Linked DNA regions of Homo sapiens: all the other regions are linked to region 1. The links are contacts of gene promoters, found by promoter capture Hi-C in blood cells and fetal thymus (Javierre and others, 2016). All regions are on one chromosome and are shown on one strand. Each heading gives the region's core, a stretch centred on a gene start or on the middle of the fragment in contact. The rest is flanking DNA. Distances are from core to core; before and after follow the strand shown.

The links. The method cuts DNA at HindIII sites, captures the fragments that hold promoters and counts their contacts. A CHiCAGO score of 5 or more calls a contact.
Region 2: a fragment that was not itself captured here is called in contact with the fragment with the promoter of EBF1 in region 1 in 1 of 17 cell types (M0 macrophages); the score reaches 5.4 in M0 macrophages.
Region 3: a contact is called between a fragment that was not itself captured here and the fragment with the promoter of EBF1 in region 1, in 3 of 17 cell types (M0 macrophages, fetal thymus and total B cells). The highest score is 6.5, in M0 macrophages.
Region 4: a fragment that was not itself captured here is called in contact with the fragment with the promoter of EBF1 in region 1 in 5 of 17 cell types (total B cells, naive B cells, fetal thymus and 2 more); the score reaches 12.9 in total B cells.
Region 5: a contact is called between a fragment that was not itself captured here and the fragment with the promoter of EBF1 in region 1, in 1 of 17 cell types (fetal thymus). The highest score is 6.6, in fetal thymus.

Annotation. Positions count from the first base shown.
Region 1 is chr5:159,098,452-159,101,278 of GRCh38, reverse strand. It overlaps EBF1 (EBF transcription factor 1), which reads left to right and starts at 1,363. Exons shown (of 16, transcript NM_024007.5): 1 at 1,363-1,934. The coding sequence starts at 1,801. LINC02202 (long intergenic non-protein coding RNA 2202) reads right to left here and starts at 796. Exons shown (of 3, transcript NR_109890.1): 1 at 441-796. RefSeq lists enhancers at 1-454, 455-1,083 and a silencer at 1,901-2,190. The HindIII fragment of the contact is 12,266 bases long and covers 1-2,827 here.
Region 2 is chr5:158,117,856-158,120,682 of GRCh38, reverse strand. No RefSeq gene overlaps it. Among named protein-coding and RNA genes, the nearest start is that of CLINT1, 260 kb to the right of the region's middle. The HindIII fragment of the contact is 898 bases long and covers 926-1,823 here.
Region 3 is chr5:158,144,222-158,147,048 of GRCh38, reverse strand. No RefSeq gene overlaps it. Among named protein-coding and RNA genes, the nearest start is that of LINC02227, 260 kb to the left of the region's middle. The HindIII fragment of the contact is 1,121 bases long and covers 911-2,031 here.
Region 4 is chr5:158,191,500-158,194,326 of GRCh38, reverse strand. No RefSeq gene overlaps it. Among named protein-coding and RNA genes, the nearest start is that of LINC02227, 220 kb to the left of the region's middle. The HindIII fragment of the contact is 837 bases long and covers 1,031-1,867 here.
Region 5 is chr5:158,435,710-158,438,536 of GRCh38, reverse strand. No RefSeq gene overlaps it. Among named protein-coding and RNA genes, the nearest start is that of LINC02227, 27 kb to the right of the region's middle. The HindIII fragment of the contact is 2,392 bases long and covers 152-2,543 here.

The DNA.
Region 1 (2,827 bases), core at 114-2,613:
AAGGACGGTTAACATTGCTGTTGCTTTGGTAGTTACTCTAAAAACAAACGAACCAACTACTTGGGGTGGGGAATGAGGGGTTGGCATTTAATTTGAGAAAATTTAAAAACGCATCCTGACACAGCCCCAGTGAGAGCATTCATTCCACCATTCACATATCTCGAGGACTGCCCGAGAGAGGTGAGCGTGTGAGTGAGAACAGTGCCCAACCCTGGCAGCCTCTAGGCTAGCGGCCGAGAGAGAAGCGTTTCAGAGGCCGGGGTGGGAGTAGAGCCTGGTACCCCACTTCCTGGGGACCCACAGCGCCTCATTTGCCGGGGCCCAGCGTCCATTCATCCCTCCCAGCGTGGAGGCCGTGCCCCTCCGAGAGTTACCAGCCCCGACCTCGCGCACCCATATTCCATCCCACCGCCCCCGCCTCAAAGCGAAGAGGTGGGCACCTGGGACGCGCGTCCTGCTTTTTCTGCCCGGGCTCTCCCGTCTCCTCCACTTTTGTCCCCGACGTCCCAGAACGGCGGAGCAGGACGCGGCATCAGCCCTGGGAGGGCGCAGCCTGCGAGCCTCCAGCGCGCTCAGGGCGCGGCGAGGATGCTAAAGGACTGCAATGGCCAGGATGCAGATCCCCAGCTCAAATTCCTGAGGAAGACACCCGCCTCCCTTTCCCTCTGTCCCCTCTCCGTCCTCGCTCGGACCCGCTCCTCCCCAGCCCAGACGTCAGTGCTCAGCGCTCCTTCGCTCGCCACTTTGCGAGGAACTTTGGCCGGCTCCCCTGCGCCACCGGGAGCGGGATGTTAATGAGAGAGCGTGGCCTGGCGCCGCCAGCGAGCCGGCTCCCGGGCCGCGATTGGCTGCGGTGGGCGGAAAGATGACGTTATGCAAATGAAGGGGCGGGGCCTCGATGCGCGGGCCCCGCCTCCTCCCTTTGGGGTTAGTGTGCCTGTGTTTAGCTCTGGGGAAAGTCAAACTGGATTCCATAGGGAAAGCCTGCAAATCACTTCTATTTTAGCAAGGAGAAAACAGAATCTCCATCCAGCAGGGTCCACCCCTCTCTCTTTCTCCCTCTCCTCTCTATCTCTCTTTCCCTCCCCCCCTTTCCTCTCTCCCTCTCTCCCCTTCCCCCCACCCTCTCTGGTGTATCTGTCTACGGCAACCAGCGTCCTCCTCATCTACACGCAAAGGAAAGAAACATCTTTGGTTGGGAGAGAAGGAGGAAAAAAAAAGAGAGAGAGAGGAAAAAACTTGCCTGGTTGTGGAAAATGACACTTGAAGTAGCAAAGCCGGCAGCGCGAGTTGAGTCTATTGTTTCTTAAATTGCCATCAGGGTTTTTTTTTTTTTTTTTTTTTTTTTTTTTTTTTTTTCTTCCTGCTTCTTCAAGTGAAGGGTACCTCTACAAAAGGAAACTCCAGCCCCTCCTGTCCTCCACCGGCCTGTGATCATTACAAAAAAAAAAAAAAAAAAGCAAAAAAAAAAAAAAAGCACCCAAACCAAAAATCAACCAACCAAACAACCCCCAACAGCCAAGCATACATCTCTAATTTTATTATTTTGGTCTTTTCGTTGGATTTTCCCTTTCTTCTTTTTTTCGGGTTATCGCTCAGTTTTGAGCAGAGGTTTACATTTTTTAAAAATTTGCTTTCCAGCCCGCCTTGATCTTCTAAGTGCGAGTTCATCGTCTGAGAAAAAAAAAAATCTCTGGTTGGCGTTTTTGTTTCTTTTCTTTTCTTTCTTTTCTTTCCTTTTTTTTTTTTTTTAATTTTTTTCAAGGGGGAGGAGATTTTCCACAAGAAAAGGTTGTTTTCATGTTTGGGATTCAGGAAAGCATCCAACGGAGTGGAAGCAGCATGAAGGAAGAGCCGCTGGGCAGCGGCATGAACGCGGTGCGGACGTGGATGCAGGGCGCCGGGGTGCTGGACGCCAACACGGCGGCGCAGAGGTGGGTACTGCGCGGGGACCGCGGCCGAGGTGAGCCGCGAGCGGGAGAGCCGGGAGGCGGAGGCGGCAGCGGCAGCGGCAGCTGCTGCCGCGGGGCCGGGCGGCGGGGTGAGTCCGCAGCCGCTGCGCTCCGCTCTCCGCCGGGGCTCCGCGCTCTCCAGCCGCTCTGCCTTCGTCGCCTGCGGCCGGAGGACCTGGAGCTGTCTGCGAGGAGCCCACGCTTTGCCAGCACTTTCCCCTGCCTCGTCTGTGACTGTTTTCATTTTGTTTTAACCCAGAAGAGGCGTCTCAACACAGCATGTTGGAGATCTGTGTTTTATGTTTTTATGTGATTGCTCTTTCTTTTCCGGCCGGCTCTCTTTTCTTCTTTCCCTTCGCTCTTCCTTTCCCTCTTTTCTTTTTTCTTTCTTTCTTTCTCTTCCTTCCTTCCTTTTTCTTTCTTTTTTCTTTTTCTTTCTTTTTTTCTTTCCTCCTTTTCTTTTTCCTTTTTCTTTCTCTTTCCTCTTCCTGCCTTTCTTTTTTCTTTCTTCCTTCTTTCCTTTCTCCCCCCTTTATTTTCTTCTCTTCTCCTTCCTCTTCCTTTCTTCCCCTCTTCCCTCCTTCCATTTCTTTCGTTCTTCGTTCTTTCCTGTCTCTCTTCCTGCCTTCTTTTCTTTCTTCTTTCTTTCATTTCCTTCTCTCATTTCTTTCCCCCACCTTCCCTTAATTTCTCCCTCACTCTTTTCCTTCCTCCCTTCCTCTCTCCATTTTCTTTCTCTTCTTTCTTCAGCTTCCCTCCTTTCTCCTCTTTCTCCTTTCCTTACCTCTCTGGCTTTCCTGTTTTTTCGTCCCATTTCTCCCCTGAGTCTTCTCTTATTTCTGCTATCTCGTTCTCCTTCCCTCCCTCTCTGTCTT
Region 2 (2,827 bases), core at 125-2,624, 980 kb after region 1:
TGACTTGTTTGCAACAGTCTGCTGTTGATTACACAGGGAAACCAAGCAGAGAACTGTGAACAAGTTCTCCACACCAGGTTCATAAAATAAGATTGAAAAAGATAAAAGAAACCATAATTTCAAAACCATCTAGACAAAAATCTGGCACTGTGCCCAGATTTGGGGCCCATTCCCTAAACAGGTCAAAGCCTCCAAAAGGCAAGCAAAAGATCCTTTTAGCCTGGGCCAGCGGAAGAGACTTGGACTGGAGTTCGGGCTTCAGGGTTCTGGGTCCTGCCATCAACCAGCTGTGTGATCTTAGGCAAGGTGTTTGACCTCTCTAAGCTTTGGTTTTAAAATCTTTACAATGAAATGGTTTGAGGGTGGGTAAGATCTGATGGTTGGGCTTGAACCCTGGCTCTACCACTTATTGGATACATAACCTTGGGCAAGTTAATTAACCAGAGTGTGGCTCAATCTCCTGACTTGTAAACTAGAGATCACTGCACTACTTACTTCACAGGGCTATTGTAAGAATTAAAGGAAAAATAATACATATAAAAACCTAGAATGATGCCTGAAATATGATACTTAATAGACATTGGATGCGTCTGCTGTTAAATACTCTGGCTGTAACTCACTGAAACTAACAGGCACAGGAAGGACACGGCAGTTATGTGAGCTGACTCTGAGAAAAGCCTGCTAATGTCTTGATGACTGAGCCTCATCGCTGATTCAGTCCTCCCGGGAACTCAGAATCCTGACCCCTGATTCCATGAAGAGGTATTTTTACCTGTTCCTCTTAAAAAACATACCTACAGTACACTGAAGTTTAAATTCCAGGTTCCCGAACCACACTTGGCAAACACCAACTCCTGCTCTGGTTTAGCTGCCCTCAAAGGCTCTCTGCATGCGTCTCTCATGGGGAAATCTCTAGTTCTAAGCTTGCTTTTACAATTTGTTAGCTGTTTAACCTTGACAAAGATGTTCAACTCCTTTGCTAATTTCTTTTCTAGGGAAAAGAAAATTATAATGTCAGTATCTTGCATGGCTCTAGAGATGAACAAATGAGAAGATAATGAAATGTTCACCGCTACCATTTATTGAGCCGCTATTACGTACCAGGCAACATACTAGACATTTTACATATATCATTTCAGTTCAGTAATCCTCACAAGAATCCTAAGAGGTAAGAAGTAAATAACACCATCCCTTGCCAGGGGCTTAGACTTCGAAGTCATTCTCAAATCTTTGTTCTTACATTCCACACCAATCCATAAGCAAGTCTTCTTGTCTCTACCTTCAAAAACTAGCTCCAACTCACTTCTCACCTATTCTACCTCCACCACTCTAGCCCTCGAACCTGCCTGGACCACTGCAATAGTCTGCTAGCCAGTGTCCTTGCCCCCTAGTGACATCCGCTGTCTCCACAGCAGCCAGCACAGCCCCCTTCAGAACATCAGCAGGGCCATTGCTTTTCCCTGTCAAAAGCCCCCAGTGGCTCTCCACCACACAGAACAAAACCCAATTTTAGCCATAGCCTACTGGCTGGCCTCTACCAACCTTTACAAAGTTTGGAACAAGAGTTCAAATTAAGCTCCATGAACAAAATTTGTTTAAGTTTTAAATAAAAAAAAAACTTTAAAAAATATTTTCTGTTTATCCACTTGATAAATATACAAAATGGTGAAGCCTACAAATATATGTAAATCCATGGCTCTTATATGACAAAAAGTATAAATCTATGGTTTTAAATGTCCGAAAGTTGGCAAAATATCAGATTGTTCCATTTAATAATTATTATTATGCATGTTTGTGTGTTTTGTTGATGGGCTAGCAAAGCTTGGATAAATGATAAAATAAGTATGTAGATAATGCAAATTATCATTCATCCAAATTTTTTATTTTAGCAAAATAAATGTTATTATAAGTAAGACTTTCACATAATTTGTTCTTTTGACAATAATCATCCAAAAGACTAAAAGTTAACTGTATTCAAATTACTCCATATTAAAATTAATTTTTATCAAAAATTCTAATATAACTGTACAAAATCAAAACACTTAAAATTATTTTTCCTGTTTGTAAAAATGCTGTTTTATTCTAAAATATTAATTTTATCTATTAAAATTAAAACAAAAGGCTAATTACATTAATGAATACCAATATTTTAAATCAAATTATTTAAATAAAGCTGAAATGTCTTTACTTTTTAAAAATCTAATTAAAACACATTAAAATCTTTTTATAAAAATAAAACTACTCATAATTCTAGTTTGAAAGAACATCTAGTTGCCAATATAAAGACTCAGTACCATATTTCATACTTTTTACCACTAGACATAAAAATACATACACAAATTTAGAAGTAATGTCAATTTTTTACTAAAATGTTCCTCAGCCACTATACGCAACTGAATTCATAAGCACTTTCACAATCACCTTTTGGAAGATGAAGCAAGAAAATGGATGACTGACTCCACTAGAAACTAACACTTTATTATGCAAAATTTTTTTGATATCTGAGAAGAAGAATTATCAAATTATTTGTCTTTCCTTTTACCTAAATACTTCATCTACTCAAATCCTTCCCACGTTCTGAAGCTGTGTTAGTTTCCAGGGTCGGCAACAGCATAGCCCTCAGTCAAACCTTGACAGCTTTTAGATGCAGTGGCCTTTTGTTTTGAGGACACAGGGCAAGAGATGTGGAGAAATGTTCCTCTGGAGCCTGAACAGTGTTAGTCACAAGAACAGATGTTTAGGATTATGGGTTGCTCAGTGTCAACACTGAGCTCTGAATCACAAATAATAGAGGCCCGTGTGTTTGTTAATAAATGTATGCTTTCTG
Region 3 (2,827 bases), core at 222-2,721, 950 kb after region 1:
TTGTGCAAACATCTACCCGGTGTAGATGAATGTAGGTAAATGAATCCTTGGTGCACTATCCCAAACAGATGGTTCTCAGCTCTTCAGTTAAACACCTCTGGTGATGGACGGCTCATTTCTGGAGAAACGAGTTACATCCAGCTGTCAGCCTTCCGAAAAGAGAGCAGAAGGGGGGCCTGGACATTAAGGTTATTAGGGTGATATACACATAGGTAGGTAGGTATGTTTTGTCACATACTCACAGGTTTGCATAACAAGAGCTCAGATTCTTTGGTTATCTGGGATTGGTTTATTTTGATGCTTCTCCAGTCTGAGAGACCCCCAAGACAGAGCAAACTGTCATCTGTCAATTAAACACCCTCCAACTATGCCCAGACTTAAGAGGCTGCCATTAAAATAAACTGAGGGCTGTCTGATTTTTAAATCTCTTTTGTTCCTGGGCTAGCAGAGAGCCATGTGGTGGGAGGGTGGAGGGACAACTGGAATAATGACCTCCTAGTTCTTTAATTACAGCACCAATAATCCCCTTTATATTCTGATGTTTTGTAACATGTGTATGGTTTTGTCTTATTTCATCTTAAAGGCCAAACAAAAGCTGACTCCAATTGCTAAAAACACACAAGGCCCCAGCCACAGGCCTCAAGCAAGGAAACAAACAAATAGGAGCATGGGAACCCAATTTCTGCGATTAAGTATGACAATGGTGTAGAGTCCATATGTCTCAGGAAAAAGGGGACATTTAAAAAGTCTCCACAGTGCTCTATGAAATCAGGAACACCCAGGACCCATGCCATTGTTCATTCTTCAGTGGAACATCATATGGACTCTGTCCTTCCCTTCAACTTAAAGATGGATGGGCAATTGTTTAACCCCAGTGTTTTTAATTAATTAGGTCTCTAACACCAAAGCTTTAAGTGAAGTTGCTTAATTTAGACTTTGCTTTGTGGGCTATAGTACTCATTGCTATTTTTTATTCATTTTTATTTTCCATATGACTCAGCCAGTCAAGGAGAACAAGGCTGTGAAATTTTACAAACCAGTTCCCCAGAGATAACAGAAAACGTCAGATTTATTGTCACGGGGGAACGATTTTCTAACTTGGGCCTAGGTATGTCCAGAGCAAGAGCAAAAAGTAAAACACATATTTTGGCTTTTTTCACCTGTCGAGAGATGGGGTAAGAATGTGTTTTAGGTCATCTTTGGGTTCTAAATGCTTACTTACAGACTCGAGATTCAAACTGGCATTCTCTTTCATTCTAGAAAAGAAAGTTTGGTAAGGAGTGATTTTTTTTTTAAGGCCAGGCAATCTGGTTGTATCCATCATTACCCTTACTTAATGACCTGCTTGTAAGTTAGCAGCTGCTGTTGCCAAGGAGAGGTACCTGGTTTCTAACAGCAGTACCTCATTGCTAGCTGGGGTGAGGGAATGAGAGGACTCAATGGCCAGCCTCAGGGCCATGTGGATGAGTGGACCCAGGTTAAAAAGAATGTGCTTTTTCTCAGTTACCTAGAAGGACTGTAAGTGTCTCCCTTGGAAGAAACTGAGAAAAAAAAAAAAAAAAAAAAAAAGGACCAGTCAAGTACAGAGTCATCCTAAAACTGGACAAAGCCTTTTGGAAAAAAAAAAAAAAAAAAAAAAAGCAGGGTTAAAAGGAAAGTATTTCTAGAGATCACATGTTCTTGGAAAAGAACATAAAATACGATTTTAGAACAAAATGCCAATTTACTCATTTCTAGTGAAAAATCTAATCACTGAGCAAAAAGAAAATATTTGTGCAAGTATGATCTGGGCATTCTCTTCCTGCTGTCAAGTTGAACGGAAAGCCAGATGTAGGATCAGAGCGGGGCTTGGTGCTCTGGGATCAGCAGGGAAAGGCCAGATAAATGGGATACTTAACAGTGACAAAGATATGCCAACTGGACCATAAATGTTCTAAGTCCTTCAGCAGGAACACTTTACATTCATGGCCATTTTAGCCCTCACCTGGCACTAGCACCAAAAATAAAGAGATACAAAACCAAAATCAAGCTTCTTTCACTGGCCTTTGAGTAGTCCATAGAGAGTGTGGCTGCTTCCTTCCAGGGTGATCTGGAAGGAGGAGAATAGCCAAGTTCACAGGTATAAGCACTGACCCGTATATTCAGAACACTAAAGACACCTGAGATGTAGACTAAAAGTGCAAGTCTAGAAACTCATTAATTGAAGTGCCAGTCCTTTAATTTATGATTAAAAAAAACTAATTACCTTCAAAGGATGATAGAAGCAATTCATTATCTTTAAAACCAGTAAATAAAGGAAGAGAATCAAGCATTTATCCTATATCTCCTATATGAACAATACCACGGGGTAATCAAAAAGTAGATGAGGGGAAGCATCCATTTATGTTTTCCAGCTAATAAATGACAAGGAAATGATAGCATTAGATATCACCATCTGGCAATTTCCAGTGATTTAATGAATCCAAGCACTGAGCATTGGCTAATGTTAACATTTCTTAAAAAGACCAAAAATCAGATAGTGTGTGCCTCTTAGTAAAAGAACTCAATGCCACCTACCAAATCAATTGAATCTGAATCTAACCAAGTATCCCAATGTAGCTCCCAATTTGCAGAAGATAAAGAGGAACATGTTGGACTGTACAATGAGTATGCAATCAGCAATATCTATATTGTAGGAAAACTATAGGTCAAAAGGTAAATTGTAAGAAAAAGAAAAGAAAGGATGAGGAAACTGTACATTAAAAGAGACTTGAAAGACGTGTTAATTTTCTTAATGCACAAGACTAAAGTAGAGTGTCTAGGGAGGCACGCCTGGATAATAAAATTG
Region 4 (2,827 bases), core at 200-2,699, 910 kb after region 1:
TCCCACCCCACTGAGACCCCTTGCTCCACTCATGGGACTCAGGCATGAATGGGGAATTCTGAGCAAGAGGCAATCAGAATGTGAAAAACATCCAATGGGGCTCTCCCTCACCCCCAAGTTATTGAGCTAGGCCTGAGTCAGCCAGAGTTAAGGCCAATGACACCTCTTAATTTGCTCTCTTTCCTATGATGTGATGCCGTGTCATCCAAATTAGACACAGTTACCTCCAAGGTATACTCAGTGTCATCATAGCCATGAAAAAAAATCACAATACATCTTCCCAGACCAATTTTTCTTTCAGTGCCTAACAGTGGGGCAGGTAGATTATTCTTATTAGAAAGCAAGCACAAATGTAAATCAGAAAATTCAAACAGATTTTTAAGATAAAACATTAGTCTTCAAAGAAATTATAGATTTCCAGGGACTATTTTGAGCTCAGCCCTATTACCTCCCTGAAAATGAATTTACTCCCTTCCATCATAAGGGATTCTTTGATTTAAAAAAAAAAAAAAAGAGCTTATGCGTGTGGTAGGCCTAAATAGTGATCTCTAAAGATATCCAGGTCCTAATCCCCAGAACCTGTGAATCTTGCTTTATGGCAAAAAGGATTTTGCAGGTGTGACTAAAGATTTTGAGATGGTGTATGTTTATCACAGCACTATTCACAATAGCAAAGACATGGAATAAACCCAGCTGCCCATCAATGGTGGATTGGATAAAGAAAATGTGGTATATGTACACCATGGAATACTATGCAGCCATAAAAAAGAATGAAATTATGTCCTTTGCAGCAACATGGATGCTGCTAGAGGCCATTATCCTGAGAGAATTAACGCAGAAACAGAAAATCAAATACAGCCTGTTCTCACTAATACGTGACAGCTAAACACTGGATACATATGGACACAAAGATGGGAACAGTAGACAGTGGGGGCTCCAGAAGTGGGGAAGGAGGGAGCTGGGGAAAGGTTTGAAAAACTACCTATCAGGTACTATCTTCACTGCTTGAGTGACAGGATCATTAGAAGCTTCTCCTCAGCATCACACAATATACCCATGTAACAAACCTACACATGTATCCTTGAATCTAAAAATAAATTTAAAAAAATTAAGACATTGAGATGAAAGATTATCCTGGATTATCTAGGTAGACCTTACATGTAATCATAAGTATCCTTCTAAGGGAAATACAGGTGGAGTTATGACTACAGAAAGGAGGTGACGTGGTGATGGAGGTAGAGACTGGAGTGATAAAATTTGAAGACGGAGGAAGGGGCCATAAGCAAAGACATACAGATGGCCACTAGAAACTGAAAAGGACAAGAAAACAAGTTCTATTCCCAGAATCTCAGAGGGAACCCTGCCAACACTTTGATTCTAGCTAGCCCAGGAAAACCCATTTTGGACTTCTGACCTGTATTGTAAGAGAAGAAATCTGTATTGTTTTAAGCCACTAAATTTGTGGTAATTCATTATAGCAGCATCAGAAAACTAATATACTTCAGAAATAAGAGTGCAGGTCACTGAGTTCAGCAACTTACACTATTATTACGAATGGTTTTACTTTGAACCACAAAGAACTTAGGATATTTGGAGATAACTATTTTATCTCCTTTCCATTAAAAAGTATTCCATTAAGCCACAAGGCATGTTTTCCTCTGACTGCCTTCCAGGCACTTGCTCATATCATTTCCCCTGCCTAGAAAGCCATCCTCATCCTCACTACTTTAGGTATTATGGTAAAACCAATAAATAAAATCTCCCTCAATTGAGATGCTTGATGAGAGTTAGATTTTCTGTCTCTAATAAGTTTTAGTAATTAGAAAGAGCAAAGAAAAGATTTCTAATCCCATAAAAGTAGGAAGCTTTTACCTCCAGTGCCAGTCTTAGATTTTTAGACTGTATGATCTCAGAGGCAACAAGCTGTCTTTTCTAGTGGCCTGCTGTTGTACCGTAAATGCATACTGTTCATTGGGGATTTTAGTTCCACTTCTCTAGTGGTCCCCAATAAAATGAAAATAATAGTTAAAAACCACTCTCAATCACTACCCCAAATTATAAATCAGTTTTAAAATAGGCTTACATTTTGCTCAGATCCTCTGATGAATTATCAAAAAAGTGAAACAACTGGAACTTACATTAAAGAGTTAACTGGAAAATAGGCAAAGATGATCCAATATACCACTAGTAGGAGACCCTGAAGAAGAAAACGAGAGAAGAGATGATCCTCAAGGGAACAGTATTAAAAACTATAGTTCAAAAAAGTTTTTCTGATACCAAAAAAAAAGTGATTTGAACCGTATATTAAAAGAACATGCCATGTACCTGGGAATATTGACCCAGAATGACCAAAACTAAGACATAGTCTAGAAAAATTATTGTATTTAAAAGAAAAAATTATTTGGACATCTAGGCAAACAGGGCACATACTCAATAAGGAAAATTAATTATCCTCAAATTTTTTTGACAGCAATTCATTATGCCAGGAGACATTACAGTAGTATATTTAAGATATTCAAAGAGAGAAAATGTGAACTAAGGATTTTATATCCAGAAAATCACAAATAGCTACTAACCTGCAAAAACTCAGAGAACACTGTTCCCATGAGCTCCTCCTAAGGAATCTACTAAAGAACAAGTCTCAGATAGGTATTGCTGGTGAATATTACTATATAGGTAATTAGAAGTTAAAAGAAAGAGACTGTAGTGTGTACTGCCTGTATGATTCAAAATGAAATTATAGTACACTTATGAAAATGGGGAAATGATTAGCATATGGAAAAAAGTTTTATCTGCTTTCAGTAATAAAAATGCCTGTTACAGTACT
Region 5 (2,827 bases), core at 98-2,597, 660 kb after region 1:
TATTTGTCCAGAGTATTGATCAGCCTTATCTAGTGCCAGCCAAAACGTAGAAGTCTGAGGCTTTTTGAGAATAACTACTTAATTTATAACAGTAATCATAATACAAAGCATTAGCAACATAGGAAAATGAATCTCTTCAATATTGCAAGCTTCAAAGGTTGTGTTTGTTTGCTTTGCTTTTATAAAAAACCCTAACCTGTCCTTCTGGCTGTGTTATCACTGGGTTTGGTCTGAGAAGAGCCAAGGAGTACTCACAAACCAATCCATAAAAATAAGAAAGCACAAAAGAGAAGTATAAATTAGGTCTCTTATTCCATTTGTCAGTCTTATGACCCTCAATGCTATGACTCCCCACTGTCTATAGAAACTCGAACTTCATGTCCAACAGTCTAACTCCAAGGGCAACTTTCAGAATTTACTTCCACCCTGCACTGTCAGCATGCACACTTCTCTCAGGGGCACAGACTAACTCACCAATCTGGACACCAATTTGGTGGTTCCTGGACTCTGTGCCTTTTTTCACATTGTCTACTTCTTTTTGGTATATCACTCTCTACTTTTGTTGATAATATTCCTCCTCCACAGCCCAACTCCAGTGTTGCTCTGCCATTGAGTCCTCTTTAGACTCTCATTTGGAATTAATTCATCTCCCTTCTTAAAAGCCTTCAATGGTTTCCCATTGAATGGAGAAGAAAATTTTGCATCCTTTTGCCTTATGATCTGCCTGGCTATCTTCCCTATCTCATCCCAAGCCATGATGCCCCAGTCACCCTGGATCTTCTTAATTTTCCAGGATTTCCCTAGAGTATTCCAGTCATACATCCCTTACACTCTGTATTTCCACTGCTTGGAAGGCTCTTCCCTCGGCTTTTCTGGAAACTGCCTCCTTGGCACCTGGTAGGTCTCGGCTGAAATGTTACTTCTCCAGAGGTCCTTCCCGGACACCTAGTAGAGCTATACATCTGCCCTGCTCTAGTACTGTTACTGTATACTATTAAGATGTGTTATCTATCTTCATACACTTTTTCTGAATGTATAATTACATATTTATTTGTTTAATTGTCTAACGTTTCTCTTTCCCACAAAAAAACATAATTCTCAAGAGGTCATGAACTCAATATATCTCACTGATACAACTCTAGATCTCACATTTAACATGATGCCTTACATTGTAGAAGTTCAACAAATATTTTTTGAATGAATGAATATATCACTTCTTCCTCTACACATTTATAACAGTTGGATGATAAGCTGCCATATATTGCAGATGTTGACATTAGTTTTTTATCTCACGCTGGATTACAAGTTTCTTTATAGCAAAGGATCATGAATAAATGAGATAATGCTTGCAAAGCACCAGGCCCAAATTAGGTCCTCAATCAGCTTTTGCTCTCATAAGGTTGAACATCAGAGACTAAGTGGAGGTGGAGAGTCTTGGGTTTTCATAAAACTTCACCTATTCCCAGCTCCATAATTTTGGCCAAATTTGTTCAGTTTCTCTGGGCCTATGTATTGGTCCATTCTCACATTGCTATAAAGAAATACCTGAGGCTGGATAATTTATAAAGAAAAGAGGTATAATTCTCATGGGTTCTGCAAGCTGTGCAGAAAGCATAATGCTGACATCTCCTCAGCCTCTGAGGATGTCTCAGGGGACTTACTACCATGGCAGAAGGCAAAGGGGAAGTAGGCCCTCTTATATGGCAAGAGCAGGGGGGACAAAGAGAAGGGGAAGGTGCTAGACATGTTTAAACAACCAGATCTTATGAGAACTCTATTATGAGAACAGCACCAAAGGGATAGTTCTAAACCATTCATGAAAGATTCACCCCCATGATCCAGTCACCTCCCACCAGACCCCCTCCAACACTGGGATTACAATTCAACATGAAATTTAAGTGTGGACACAGATCCAAACCATATCAGCCTGTCTCCTCATTTGTAGATTGTTAATGATGGCACTCACGTTACTGGGTGGTTGTGAGAATGGTATTAGCTAATGCAGGTCAACTGCTCAGCACAATGTCTGGAAAGTAAAAAGTGTTCAATATGGTGGCTATTACTATTACATTAGTCATACCAAGAAACAGAAAAGCTGTGCAAGACATCCAGGAGCTGATCTAGTACTGTTGGCTAGGCTTTGATGTTCCCTTTTGGAATGTAAGCAATTTCAAAGAGCATCAACCTCAGACATGGTCACTCTGTGACCATGATGGAGCGAGACAAAGACTAGACCATTCCATAATATTGTCTGAACACAGAGAAACTTCAGCATTGTTCAAACTGCAAAAATGCTCAATCTCCCCTCCTTCCTGGCTAATGTGAATGATTGCTACTTCTTAATCAATTACAGCCTTAGAACTGTTCTGGCATTCCCTTCTTCTATATAAGACTGATTTAGATACTCAACCTTCATCTAGTCTCTCCCTCTAAATAAGATTTCTTTAGATACTGAATCATAGGATTATTCCTACTTCCTGACAGCACCAATTCAGAAGAAAACTGCTTCCTTAAACTCTCTCCCAAATCACCTAATGCAAGCTTGTGTCCCACAAGTCCTTTCTAACACTCTCTTACTGAGATGACTTATAGTTCCTCATGGTGTGCATTCTCTCTCACTGAAATTAGTAATAAACCCAACTTGTTCAACAACAGTATTTTCCTGGTGGTCTTTGGCTGAAGGGCATTGATCATAGTCATGAGAGTAACAATATCTATCATTTATTGAGCATTTACCAGGGCCTCTTCTAAGCAATTTACATGTGTTAATTTACTCAATTCTTCAGTCAACTTTAGAATGTAGGTAAGAAAAACTAAGCTAGGAAGA